Regions from separate parts of the Homo sapiens genome. Here region 2 is linked to region 1. The links are contacts of gene promoters, found by promoter capture Hi-C in human tissues and cell types (Jung and others, 2019). All regions are on one chromosome and are shown on one strand. Each heading gives the region's core, a stretch centred on a gene start or on the middle of the fragment in contact. The rest is flanking DNA. Distances are from core to core; before and after follow the strand shown. Region 1 holds the start of FXYD1 (FXYD domain containing ion transport regulator 1). Region 2 holds the start of KMT2B (lysine methyltransferase 2B).

The links. Contacts are between HindIII fragments. The study calls those that stand out against the background at their distance.
Region 2: a contact is called between the fragment with the promoter of KMT2B here and the fragment with the promoter of FXYD1 in region 1, in 1 of the 25 tissues and cell types used here (mesendoderm cells).

Annotation. Positions count from the first base shown.
Region 1 is chr19:35,134,772-35,140,471 of GRCh38, reverse strand. It overlaps FXYD1 (FXYD domain containing ion transport regulator 1), which reads right to left and starts at 1,648. Exons shown (of 8, transcript NM_021902.4): 1 at 1,578-1,648; 2 at 332-396. The coding sequence starts at 392. It overlaps LGI4 (leucine rich repeat LGI family member 4), which reads left to right and starts at 5,413. Exons shown (of 9, transcript NM_139284.3): 1 at 5,413-5,700. The HindIII fragment of the contact is 30,870 bases long and covers 1-3,424 here.
Region 2 is chr19:35,714,398-35,719,869 of GRCh38, reverse strand. It overlaps KMT2B (lysine methyltransferase 2B), which reads right to left and starts at 1,867. Exons shown (of 37, transcript NM_014727.3): 1 at 1,489-1,867; 2 at 329-401; 3 at 1-86. The coding sequence starts at 1,851. ZBTB32 (zinc finger and BTB domain containing 32) reads right to left here. Exons shown (of 7, transcript NM_014383.3): 3 at 4,363-5,347; 4 at 4,040-4,113; 5 at 3,863-3,931; 6 at 3,573-3,737; 7 at 2,832-3,392. The coding sequence starts at 5,243. The coding sequence ends at 3,118. RefSeq lists silencers at 1,433-1,482, 1,533-1,612, 1,653-1,722, 1,743-1,792, 1,873-2,352 and 1 more and enhancers at 1,078-1,635, 2,923-3,202, 2,755-3,314. The HindIII fragment of the contact is 20,092 bases long and covers 1-5,472 here.

The sequences.
Region 1 (5,700 bases), core at 399-2,898:
ACACTCTCTGGGTCCCAGCTGCCCCCTCTGCACTGTCCCAGATGGGGCAGGTGGCACCTAACTGCCCCAGCTCCCTGACTCACGGCAGGCTGTCTGTGACCCAGTTATCCCATCGGGGATTCAGCCCCATCCCACCCCATCTTTGCCTGATCTGGGGCTTCCTCTCCCCTCCCCCAAATACCAGCCTGTGACTGGACCCCACGTGGAGACCCCCAAACTTCTTGGTACCCCAGCCGACTTAGTCTAGGTTGGGGTCTCCAACTTGGTTCTTCGGTCCCCACCGCCACCCCTGGGGCTGAGGTGGGTAGCGGGCAGCCTCCCCTGCACTCACCTGCCTTGGCCATGGTGAGGAGACCCACACAGAAAACCAAGATGTGGCCAAGAGACGCCATTGTCCTGGGGGGGACACCACGGATTAGGCAGTGTGTGCCCTTGCTCTCCCACATAGGGCTTGAACCCAAGGGATTAAGTCAGAGACAGTCTGGGGACTGAATCACAGAAGTGTTTGTCCTCTATCTTGGTGGCTCCAAGCTAGAGAAACGGGTATCCCCAGCTTCGTGGGGACACAGTGTCACCAAAACAACCTCCACGATGGGATCACACAACAACACAACGTAGCAGGGACGGGGGTGAGACACACAGTCCCCGGGGGGCCTCCCTTGGGCCTCCACCTCCCGCAGCAGGCCCCCGATTCCCAGACCTACCCTGGCAGGGCAGAGGAGGCGCTGCCTCACACAAACACAGAGCAGGAGACAGCAGGGCACGCCCAAGTCCCACCTGCCTACATGCCCGGCCTCACTGTGCCCCGCGAAATCCCAGCTCCCTGCCCTCTCCGCCCGCCCGCTCGCGGCCTGACCCCGGGTATAAATATCTCCCACTTCACCCTGGAGGAATTCTGCTCGCTCAGGCCACCATGGCAACAGCCTGCCTTCCCCCACTCAGGGGGTCACGCACAGCCCTGCCGGGGTGAGGCCCAGCTGCCACATCGCCACAGGCTGCCCCTGTGGGAAAGGTCACCCCGTCTCCTCCCTGGGCAGCAACGAGAAAAGGAAAAGACAGCCCCTCTGCCCGCCTCTGGGTGACATCTTTCACAATCGGATGTCAGGCAAGTGACATGAGGCCCAGCCCAGTGGGCCTTAGAGATAGAAAACACATGCTGGGGCAGGGATACACACACACACACACACACACACACACACACACACACACAGTGGGGCCGGAATGGACATGAACAACAACCTCTCCCCAAACTGCTGGTTGGAGCAGGACGTGGGGTGTAAACACCGTCAGGCATCCAATACTCCTCCTCTGGGCCTCCGGTGCCCCCACGCAGTGACGCAACCAGCCCTACACACGTGTGTGTCCCAACTCCACACCCTGCCAGGGTGCACACGCACCAGCAGGGCAGGGAGGAGTCACCCACATCCCACCCTGCAGAACCCACTGCCTCAACCACACTCCCTCCCTCTTGGGTTGGCCTGCCTGGGAAGCCTCGGGCTGGCCACTCCTGCTCCCAAAATAGGCGGCCCAGCCAGACCAGGGGTGAGGCCTGGAGGGAAGGAGTGGGGGACGCTCACCCCAATCGGGCTGTCCCCTGCTGAAAGAAGGCCCCCAAACGTCCTGCTGTGCCCCGGGGGCTGAGCACTTTGGACCCCCTGGCCCAGAGCTGGACGCGCCGCCCCCAGCAGCCTCCCCTCCCAGCCCCACCCCACCCATGCCCTCCCCAACCAGCAGCTGAAACTGGAGCTGGGGCTGGAGGGGGGCCAGGGGGCGGCCCCCAGCCCAGACTGCCCTGGCCCGCTTGGTTAACTCTCTCAGTTCAGAGAGAGCAGCAGCAGGCAGCCAGCAGGCAGGCTGGAGAGGCTAGGAGGATTGTGGAGGACAGGGTTGTGAACACACACACACACAAACACACACGCCTCCAAGAGCTTTTGGGCTGAGGCGGCTGCCCCCTGGGAACTGGGTCCAGCCAGGGCCGAAGGTCACCCAGCCTGACTGCCCAGGAGCCCACTGACCCCCGATCCCAGTGCTCCGTGAGGTCCTTAACAGGGCTGTTTTAGAGGACGGGAGGGAGGTGTGTGTGTGTGTGTGTGTGTGCGCGCGCATGTGCGCTATCTGCTGTGGTGAGATCCCCAGAAATGCACCACACACACACACCCACACACAATCCCAAAGACCCAGATATACAGGTACAAAACCAGACAAAACCATGTATGTATGTACATCCATAGAAGCAGACACACACAGAATGACACACTGATAGAGAAACCCAAAGACCCGGACACACAGCCAACACCTTTTATGCCAGTCACAAAATACCAGAACAAGCACATTTATGTCTACACAGACCCACGCACGCTCATGTAGATGGATGGCCACACAGAGATACAGTCAAAGACATAGCCACATCACCATCTACACTCACAAACTGGCCACAAAAATGCATGTTTATGTGAAGACCCACCCACAAATGGCCATACAGAAACACACAAGTATGTGCACACCGCACATAAATGCATTCTAAGATGCATGGCCAAACATGGCCAGGTACGGTGGCTCACACCTGTACTCCCAGCACTTTGGGAGGCCAAGGCGGGAGGATCACTTGAGGCCAGGAGTTCAACACCAGCCTGGCCAACCCGACGAGAGCTCGTCTCTACTAAAAAAATATACAAAAATTAGCTGGGTGTGGTGGCGTGCGCCTGTAATCACGGCTACTCCGGAGGCTGAGGCAGGAGAGTCACTTGAGCCCGGGAGGCAGAGCTTGCAGTGAGCTGAGATCATGCCACTGCACTCTAGCCTGGGCAACAGAGCGAGACTCTGTCTCAAAAACAAAAACAAAACAAAAAAACCCCAAAGGTACAGACATGCAGCCAGCACTCCTACATGGTCCCAAAGATAGGAAGGCCAACAAGCTTGTGTACACACAGACAGATTTCCATGGGCACAGATACACAAGCAGAAACACCATCAAGGACAACCCGCCGCTCTCACACATACCCACAAAAGCAGAAACACACACACTGGTTCACACCCTATGCTTGAGCAAACAGGCACATGGTTGGCCACGGTGACAGATGCGCAGGCTGACACACTTGCATGTTCACACATTCCAAAACCACAGATATGTATTTAACCCCACACTTTCCTTCCCCTGAGCTCTTGTCGGGGACAACACACCTGGCGTCCCCATGGGCAGGCCAGGTTTACAGGTCCTGGTGACAGGGAAACCTGGAATGGCCCAGGCACTGCACTCCTGGTTGTGTGAACTTGAGCAGCTCTGTGCCTCATTTTCACATGCTCCAAAATGGAAAAATCACTAAGATCACGTGTATAATCCTGGACAGGGCTCAGAGGTCTCTGAACTTGACATTGTCTTATGATTAACTTCATTTTTTGTTTGTTTGTTTGAGACCGGGTCTTGCTCTGTCACCCAGGCTGAAGTGCAATGGCACAATCATAGCTCACTGTAGCCTCAACCTCATGGGCTCAAGTGATTCTCCCACCTCAGCTTCCTGAGTAGCTGGGACTATGGGCGTGCGACACCATGCCTGGCTAATTTTTTAATTTTTTGTACAGTCGGGGTTTCTCTATGTTGCCCAGGCTTGTCTTGAACTCCTGGCCCCAAGCGATCCTCCCACTTCAGCCTGCCAAAATGTGGGATTACAGAAATGAGCCACCGTGCCTGGCCTATTATTATTGTCCTTGTCATCCTCCTCCTTGTGAACTGGACTGCTGGGCTGGGCACCCTATGAGAGTGGGTTCAGATCCCTCTGTGCCCCTGGCACTCAGCTCTCCAACTTCACTTTCAGGGACCCTGTTTATCATACCCAATAGTCAGTGAAGGAAACTGAGAGCTGACGGGCATGGCTCAAACCACAAGCTGCTGGGGTCTGCTCCTCTAGGAGCTGGATCCGGAGCCCACCCCCAAGCTTGCCGACCACTGTGGGATGCCCACCTTGTGCTGAACCCCAAAAGGATGAGTTGCCTCCATCACCTGAGTCCTCTCCACAACTGGGAAGCGGGTGCCACGATTGTCCCCGTTTGACAGATGGGAAAACTGAGGCCACACAGGACTGGGCCTGGAACCCAGATCTGCATGACCTCCAAGCTGTTAAGCCCCCTTATCCTCCAACGAGGCTTCTGGGCGTGGGCGTCAGTGTCAAGAGAGGCTGCATGCATTCCTCAATCACAGGATGAGTCTCGTCCCCAGGCGATGAGGTGGTACAGCCTAGGGGTTAGGTTTAGAGCTGACTAGAGCCAGGAAACTAATCACATAACTTCCCTGTGCCTCAGTTTCCCCATCTGTAAAGCAGGGATAGCAGTACTGCCCATCTCACAGGGTGGCTGTGAAGGCTGAGTGAGTATAAACATTACTACTATTTCATCTTAGCTAACAAGTGTCATTTACTTATGTTTCTTATTTAGTGGACAGAATCTATCCAAATGACTAAAATTTAGTCCAGATTAAAACAACCAATTATCCATCTATCCATGAACTCTGATCTCCAAAGAAAGAATGCAAAATAACCTGGAGCCGGATGCCTGGGTTTGAATCCCGGCTGTGCCCTCAGCTGGGTAACCTAGAGTTCAGGTTCCCTGACCTCTGTCTCCACTTCCTCCAGCTGTAAAGTGGTGATGATGACAGCACTAACTTCAGAGGGCTTTGGCAAGATCAGAATGAGTTAATAGATGAGCTTTTAGGACAAGGCCAGGCTCAGAGTAGACGCTGAAGAAGGGGTGGCATCATCATCATCATCTTCACCATCATCATCATCTTCATCATCATCATGTCCTCGGGTTGGTGCTGTCCCCCAGTGGGTGTTGGCCACTAGAGGGTTAATTTCAGGGTAGGGGAGGGAGGCTAAGGGCTTGGGGCCGGGCAGAGGTCCTGCCGAGTATGACCACCAGAGGGAGCAGCTGGACGTGATCTGGCCCCACTGACAGCGCCCAACACACCCTCCTGTAGCCAGGGGAGGGGGCTGGCAGAGAGTGGCCAGGACGGGATGTCCCCAGCCCCCCCAGGGCCTCTCCTCCCACCCTGCTCCAGAATGCAGAGCCATCTGGTCCCCACCCTGGTGACATCGTCCTCCTGCTCCCCCAATAGGGTTGAGTGGGGAATCTGGGGAGGGGGCTGGCGGGAGTGGTGGGGCGGCTCCAGCCCTTGGTGGCCCCTCCCCCTCCTGTGGGGCTGTCCAGTCCCTTCCCCCAAGGCCGACCTTCTCATGGCCTCTGACCCCCTCCTCCTTCCCATCCTACTCTGCCGGGTGTGCCGGGTGTCCAGCGAACCCCTTTCCCAAACCTTCGGGGAGAAGGGAGGTGGGAGGAGGCAAAGAAACTACAGGCAGGGAGCTGGAAGGGGGGGTGGGGGGGGCAGGAGACAAGAAATCAAGACACCAGGCAGCAGGACACACACACACTCACATACACTCACACACATAGAGACCAACAGATAGACAGCTACCTAAAGCCTGAAAGACTGACAGCAACACAGAAAAAAAGAAACAGGCAGAAAGAGAGACAAAGACAGAAATAGAAACAGACTAACACACAGAGTCAAAAATACAGAGACAGAAAGACAGGGAGAAAGAGAAACAGAAAATTAGACACCAAAGACATACGAACAGGGAGGAAGGCCGACTGAAAGAAAGACGGAGAAGAGGAGAGAGAAGCCAGGGCCGAGCGTGCCAGCAGGCGGAT
Region 2 (5,472 bases), core at 618-3,117, 580 kb before region 1:
TGGGGGGGTAGGAGCCACATCTGCTAGGCGAGGAGGAGGAAGGGGGGTCGTCTTATGCTTGCGACCCCGACCTCGGGGCGCTCGACCTAAAAGGAGAATAGTTGTGGGGAGATGGATCAAGCCAGCCCTACACACAGAGGAAGGCGCTCCAGGAGGGCAGGGACTAAGTCTTGCTTGTGTGTTTCCCCCGCTGCCCAGACTAGCTTGGACTCTGAACACAGAACACATTCGGCAACTGACAGAGGCTAGTTGAACAGGGAAGAGCTGACACGAAGGGCGAGGATAAATTCCTGTGACGCTAAAGAGGTGGAGTTCCCCCGTCACTCACCTCGCTGGGATCGGAGCGCAGAGCGCAGGGAACTGGGGGCCACATCTTCATCTGAATGAAAACCCTGAAACTCCTGATTTAGGGGACCGGGGTGGAGGGGAGAAACAGCAGTCAGTGCCAAAGCCCTCGTTCCATCTGAGGTATCGAGGAATATCCCCAGTTCCCACTTAGCATACCCCTGCCTATTTAAAAAGAACGAAAAAGACTCAAAGGTCGCGGGTAGTGGAAGAGAGGGTCTCTCCCTAGGGATGGAGGCGCCAGGTATTTCGAACTCCGATCCCCAGTGCCGGACCACACCAGCACAGCCAAAGCCATGGTTCACTGGCCCAAGAGAGAAGACGACAGGGTCTCCTCAGGAAAGGCAGCAGGCCCCATACTCAGATTCCTTCAGAGTCCAATTCAGACCAAAGTGGGACCTCCACTGACACCCTTTCGGGCCACAATTTATTTCTGCATTAAGTTGGGAACAGGGGCCCGCAAGTGAAGGGGCGGGGAGGGCATCAGATGGCTTTCGTACAGGCTCCACTGCGAGCTCTCAGGTTGTTATTAACCGTCCAGGGCAACGCAACCCACACCTTCCTGCCTGTTCTGAAAGGCTGGGGGAGAAATCCTGAGCTGAGCTCTGACCTGCTAGAGTGCCCAGTCCCGGCCTTCATCCCACTCCTGTTCAACCCGAGCCCCAAGAGGAAGCCCTCCACCACTCTACCTGAGATGCCAAGAGAAACTGGGGCCCTGGAGAAACCAGGAGGTTGCGAGGCCCGGCGGGGCGGCCCACAGGTAAGAGCCCAGACAGCTCCAACCTGTCTGCCAAGGCCACGCTGCCGCTGTCAACCACGACTGGCTGGACATGCAGTCCCCACTGCCTCCTCGCCCAAACCTCCACCGCCCTAGCTTTGCCAGCTGCCGAAAAGGATCGGCCCAAGACACTTCAGCGGGACCGACATCGGGCGCGAGTGCCTGGCTGCAGCCGGGGCTTCTCTACCCACTTCCAGAGGCCCTTTCCCCCGGAAGCTGCATGCAGCCGCCCTCCCTCCGTGCCCCGTCTCTCCGAAGGAACCCTGAGGACCCGGCCTGCCCACGCCGCCCCCGGGACAACCCAGACCCCTGGAAGCCCCGGCCTCCGCCCCACCCGGCGCCGGGGACGCCTCCAACCGCCTCACCTCCTCGTCGGATTCCCCGTCACTGCTCTCCTCCTCCGGCACGCAGCCTCGACTCGGGCCCCAGCCCCGGCCCCGACCCCGTCCCCGGCCCCGCTGGACCCGCGGGCCGGCCCACAGGCGGCGGAGCCGGCGCAGGCCCCGGCGGAGCCCCAGCAAACGGAGCAGGGCCGTGTCCTCCCCGGGCTCGGCTCCGCCCGGCCCCGTCGCGCCACCGCCGCGCCGCAGAGCTACCCGCACTCTTTCGGCCCCGTTGCCCCGTCCGCCGCGGCCCCCGCCCCCGCCGGCGCCCCGCGGCCGGCCCGGGAAGCGGCCCCGCGCGGAGCCAGGCCCGGGGCAACTGCCGCCGCCCGCCGCCGCCGCCATCTTGGCACCGTGAGAGGGGCCGGGGAGGCGGGGGGAGGGGCGGCCCGTGCGCAGGGCCGGGGGGAGGGGAGAGAGCGGGGGCGGGGCGGGGCGGCCGCGGCGCACGACAACAACCAGCGCCGCCGCGGGAGACCGGGGGCCGGGCCGGCCACGCGCAGGGCACCACGGGAGAGGGAGTCCGCGGCCGGCCGGCGCCCTCGGACCGCACCTGGGGAGCACAGACCCCCGCGTCGCGGCCGCAGAGGGGCGAACCGCGGGGGCCTCCGGGAAATGTAGTCCGGACGCCTCGCTTCTTCCGCCGGCAGCCAGGGCGCGAGGGCCGGGACGGCGGGGTTCCCGGCCAGGACCCGGAAAGCGGGTTGCCGGGTCTCCGGGAGGTGTGGTCCTAGCCCCAGGCTCCTCCCATTGTTCTTGGCTAGGCCGGCGGCCCGCGTGGACTACCACTCCCAGGGTGCCGCGGGCTCGGGCCCCGGGACCCCCGAGGCCCTGGGAAATGCAGTTCGCGGCTGCAGGAGGCGTGGGCTGGAGAAGGAGCGGTGGAAAGCATAGTCAGTCTCCGTTCCAGGCGCGACCTGGCGGCGGCTTGGCACGGTGTGGAGGGAAGACGCCGGAGAGGCCGCGGTCTCGGGGTCCGTGTGCTCCCGGAGAGGAGGCGGGTGGCCGAAAGCAGGGTCGGAGCACGCGTTCCTCTCTCTCCCGGGCCGAGCGTTCCCAGATCAGACTCCGCGCGCCGTGGATTGCAGTGGAAGGGGCGAGTGACTTGCGGTCGCACAGCCCCCACCAGTCCAGGACCGGCATGCCGCAAGGTGTGCCCGGACACCGAGTCCTCGGGGCCGGCTGCCTCCTGGGGAGGACGGGGCGCCTCGGGGGTGGAAGAAGTGTCCATCCCGCTGGACAGCGGACGCAGGGCCACCAGGGGCCGCTACAGGACAAGGGGCGTGGGCGGGGGTGTGCACAGACTAAACTCGGCTTTCTAGTCCTGAAGGGAGGGCACAGGAAACTCTTTATTATGGTGATGAGATCGACAATCTCCCCTACTGTTAACCTTCGCTCCTGCACACTTCAGTGTCCTCACTCTGTAGGGCTCGCTGGCCTGGGCTTCTGCGACCCGCGATCGTCCAGGAGAGGGCACTCGGCGCCCTTCCTGGGGCGCTTCTGGGGCGGAATTTGCTAGGCCGCCGTAGCAGCGGTGCCAGGTCAGAAGCCGAGCCGGCCCGCTTTTCGTTCTTTAATTGGACTCTTGGCTAAGACGCTACCGACACCCCGTCAGGTGGTGGAGGAAGAAGGACAACAGGGAGAGGTCGAGGGCCGAGACGGCCTCGAGGAGGAGTAGAGGAAGGTGGAGCGGATGGTCCATCCGGGCGGGAGTTGGCTGGGCGAGTGACCGCGCATGTGCGCCTGCATGGAGGCCAGGCTGGGACAGCCGGCCCCGCACAGGGAGCAGCGGTACGGAGCGGCCCCGTGTGTCCGCAGGTGCTTGGTCATGGCCGAGAAGTCCCGGGAGCGCTGAGGACAAAGGCTACAGGAGAAGGGCTTCTCTCCTAGAGCGGTCGGAAGGGGAGGCCGGTGAAGGAAGGAAGAAGGCGGCGAAAGCTGGCCAAGTTAGGGGTGGATCGGGCCACGGGGCTAGGGGATTGCGCGGGAACCGGGCACACAGGTGGAGACTCAGGAGCGGAGTTGGGAAGAAAGCCGACAGTTCACACAGGGCAGGGCGCCCATACCTGTGTGGACTCGGTAGTGCGTCTCCATCTGATGCTTGAGTGAAAACCTCTTTCCACAGACAGAGCACGCATAGGGCCGAGACCGAGCAGGAGGGGCCGGGGGAGGGTGCGGGCGAGGTGGGCAGCCTGCCTTGTCCTCATGACCCGCACAGGTTGCAAGTGCGCCTGTGGGGACAGAGAAGGCAAAGGAGGGCAGGGCCAGGAATCCCAGCGCCAACTCACTGTACCATTCAGGCAGGAAATCAAGGGCTACAGTGGGGCTGAGGCACGAGTGCCCCCGCCCGACTCACCTGTGTGCCCCTGATCAGACTCTTCCATCTCCCCAGGGCTGAGCTGTGCGGGGCCCTGGGGGAGGGAACCTGGAAGGAACAGTGGGAGGTAGGGGCCCTGCTCAGGCTGGACTCCTCGAGCCCCAGCCCAGAGAAGACACCATGTTACAGGTGTATGCAGGACAGCGAGGGGCTTACCTGGGGTAGGGCTGGAGGAGGCCAACTGGTTCTGGCTCCAGAGCCCTTTGGGGGCATTTAGGGACAGTGGGATCCTGGGATGGGGTGGGGAAGAGTTACAGCCTTGGCTAAACCTGGGAGCCTGGCCCCTTCGTGAAGAGGGGGTATCCCAAGTCCTCCCCCGGGGGCTGGGCTTTGGCGTGCCCTGTGGCAGCAGCTTCTTGTCTCTTCCCCAGCTCAGGAACTGTGCAGTAGAGATGCAGTGCCCTTCCACCCAGCAGGGCTGCCCCTCCTGGGCCATGCCCTCCCAGCCTGGAGGCAGAGCACTAGACCCCGCCACTCACCTCTGTTCCCGCCAGACCTCCTGCCAGGCTCCAGTGGTGGGGGTGCTATGGTAGAAGGGAATGCCATATCTGGGCGGCATCAGCAGGATGCTCCACAGGGCAGGCTGGCCCCCCACCAACCAAGGGGCCTCAGCCCACGAGGGCCTAGGGGTGACGCTGGTTTGCAGGGAGCCTGCTGGGGGAAGGGGGCCAGGGAGCTTGCGCAGACTTTCCTCAGAGCCCCCTGGATTTTCCCTCAACCACGTGAGCACTCCATGCTTCCCATCTGCTCCCCTTTGGCCAACAGGGGCTTGGAGGCGTTTCTCCTTTGACCTGGTCTGTTCCTGCTGAGCCTCCTGCGTTGCTCCTGCCATCTCGGGTCTGCCTCTTGGTGGCGAGTGCTTGTGCAACATCTCCTGTTCTCTCCCACCAGTTCTAGAAACCTGTTCTGGTTTCTGCTTCTCTCCAGGGTCCCCCAGTTCTCTCTCAGGATTCCTTGAGGGTTTCTCTGGCTCCTCCTGATGTTTCTTCAGGCCTGGATCTGGCTTTTTAGCCCTGTCCCCTCGAGCCCTCCAGCATGCCTCTTCCAGGGACTGCACTCCCAAGGCCCTGGCCGCCTCCTGAAGGGGCCTTAGCTCTCCAGGCTGCAGCTCTACACTCTCCCCATACACAAAGTTCAGGAGCTGGGCAAAGGTAGAAGGGCTGATGCCTTCTCCCAGAGCCCACTGGCCCCTGCGGCCCAGCTGCTGGCTGACACCTGCTAGCACCAGGCTGTGGGCGGGGAACTCCTGGCTCCCTACGGTGATCAGAGTATCACAGAGTGCTGGCCGGAGCCTGGCTGCTAGCTGTACCAGCCGATCAGAGCCATAGGGGCTGGGCAGTCTTATGGGGGGCAGGGACATTGTGCCTTGGCTTGGGTACCTAACTCAGAGGCTCTAAGAGGAAGTCCACAGTGTGAGGTCCATGGTTGAAAGGGGAGGGAGGAACATCTCATCTCATTTCAAGCCTGTGGATGTGAGGGGAGAGGGTGTGAGTTGCTGGTCCTAGATCAGAGCCCTCTGTCCTGAGTGAGCAAATAAAGTAACCCAAGAGAGGATTGGAGCTTATCCAGAATCATAGCAGGTAGGCATG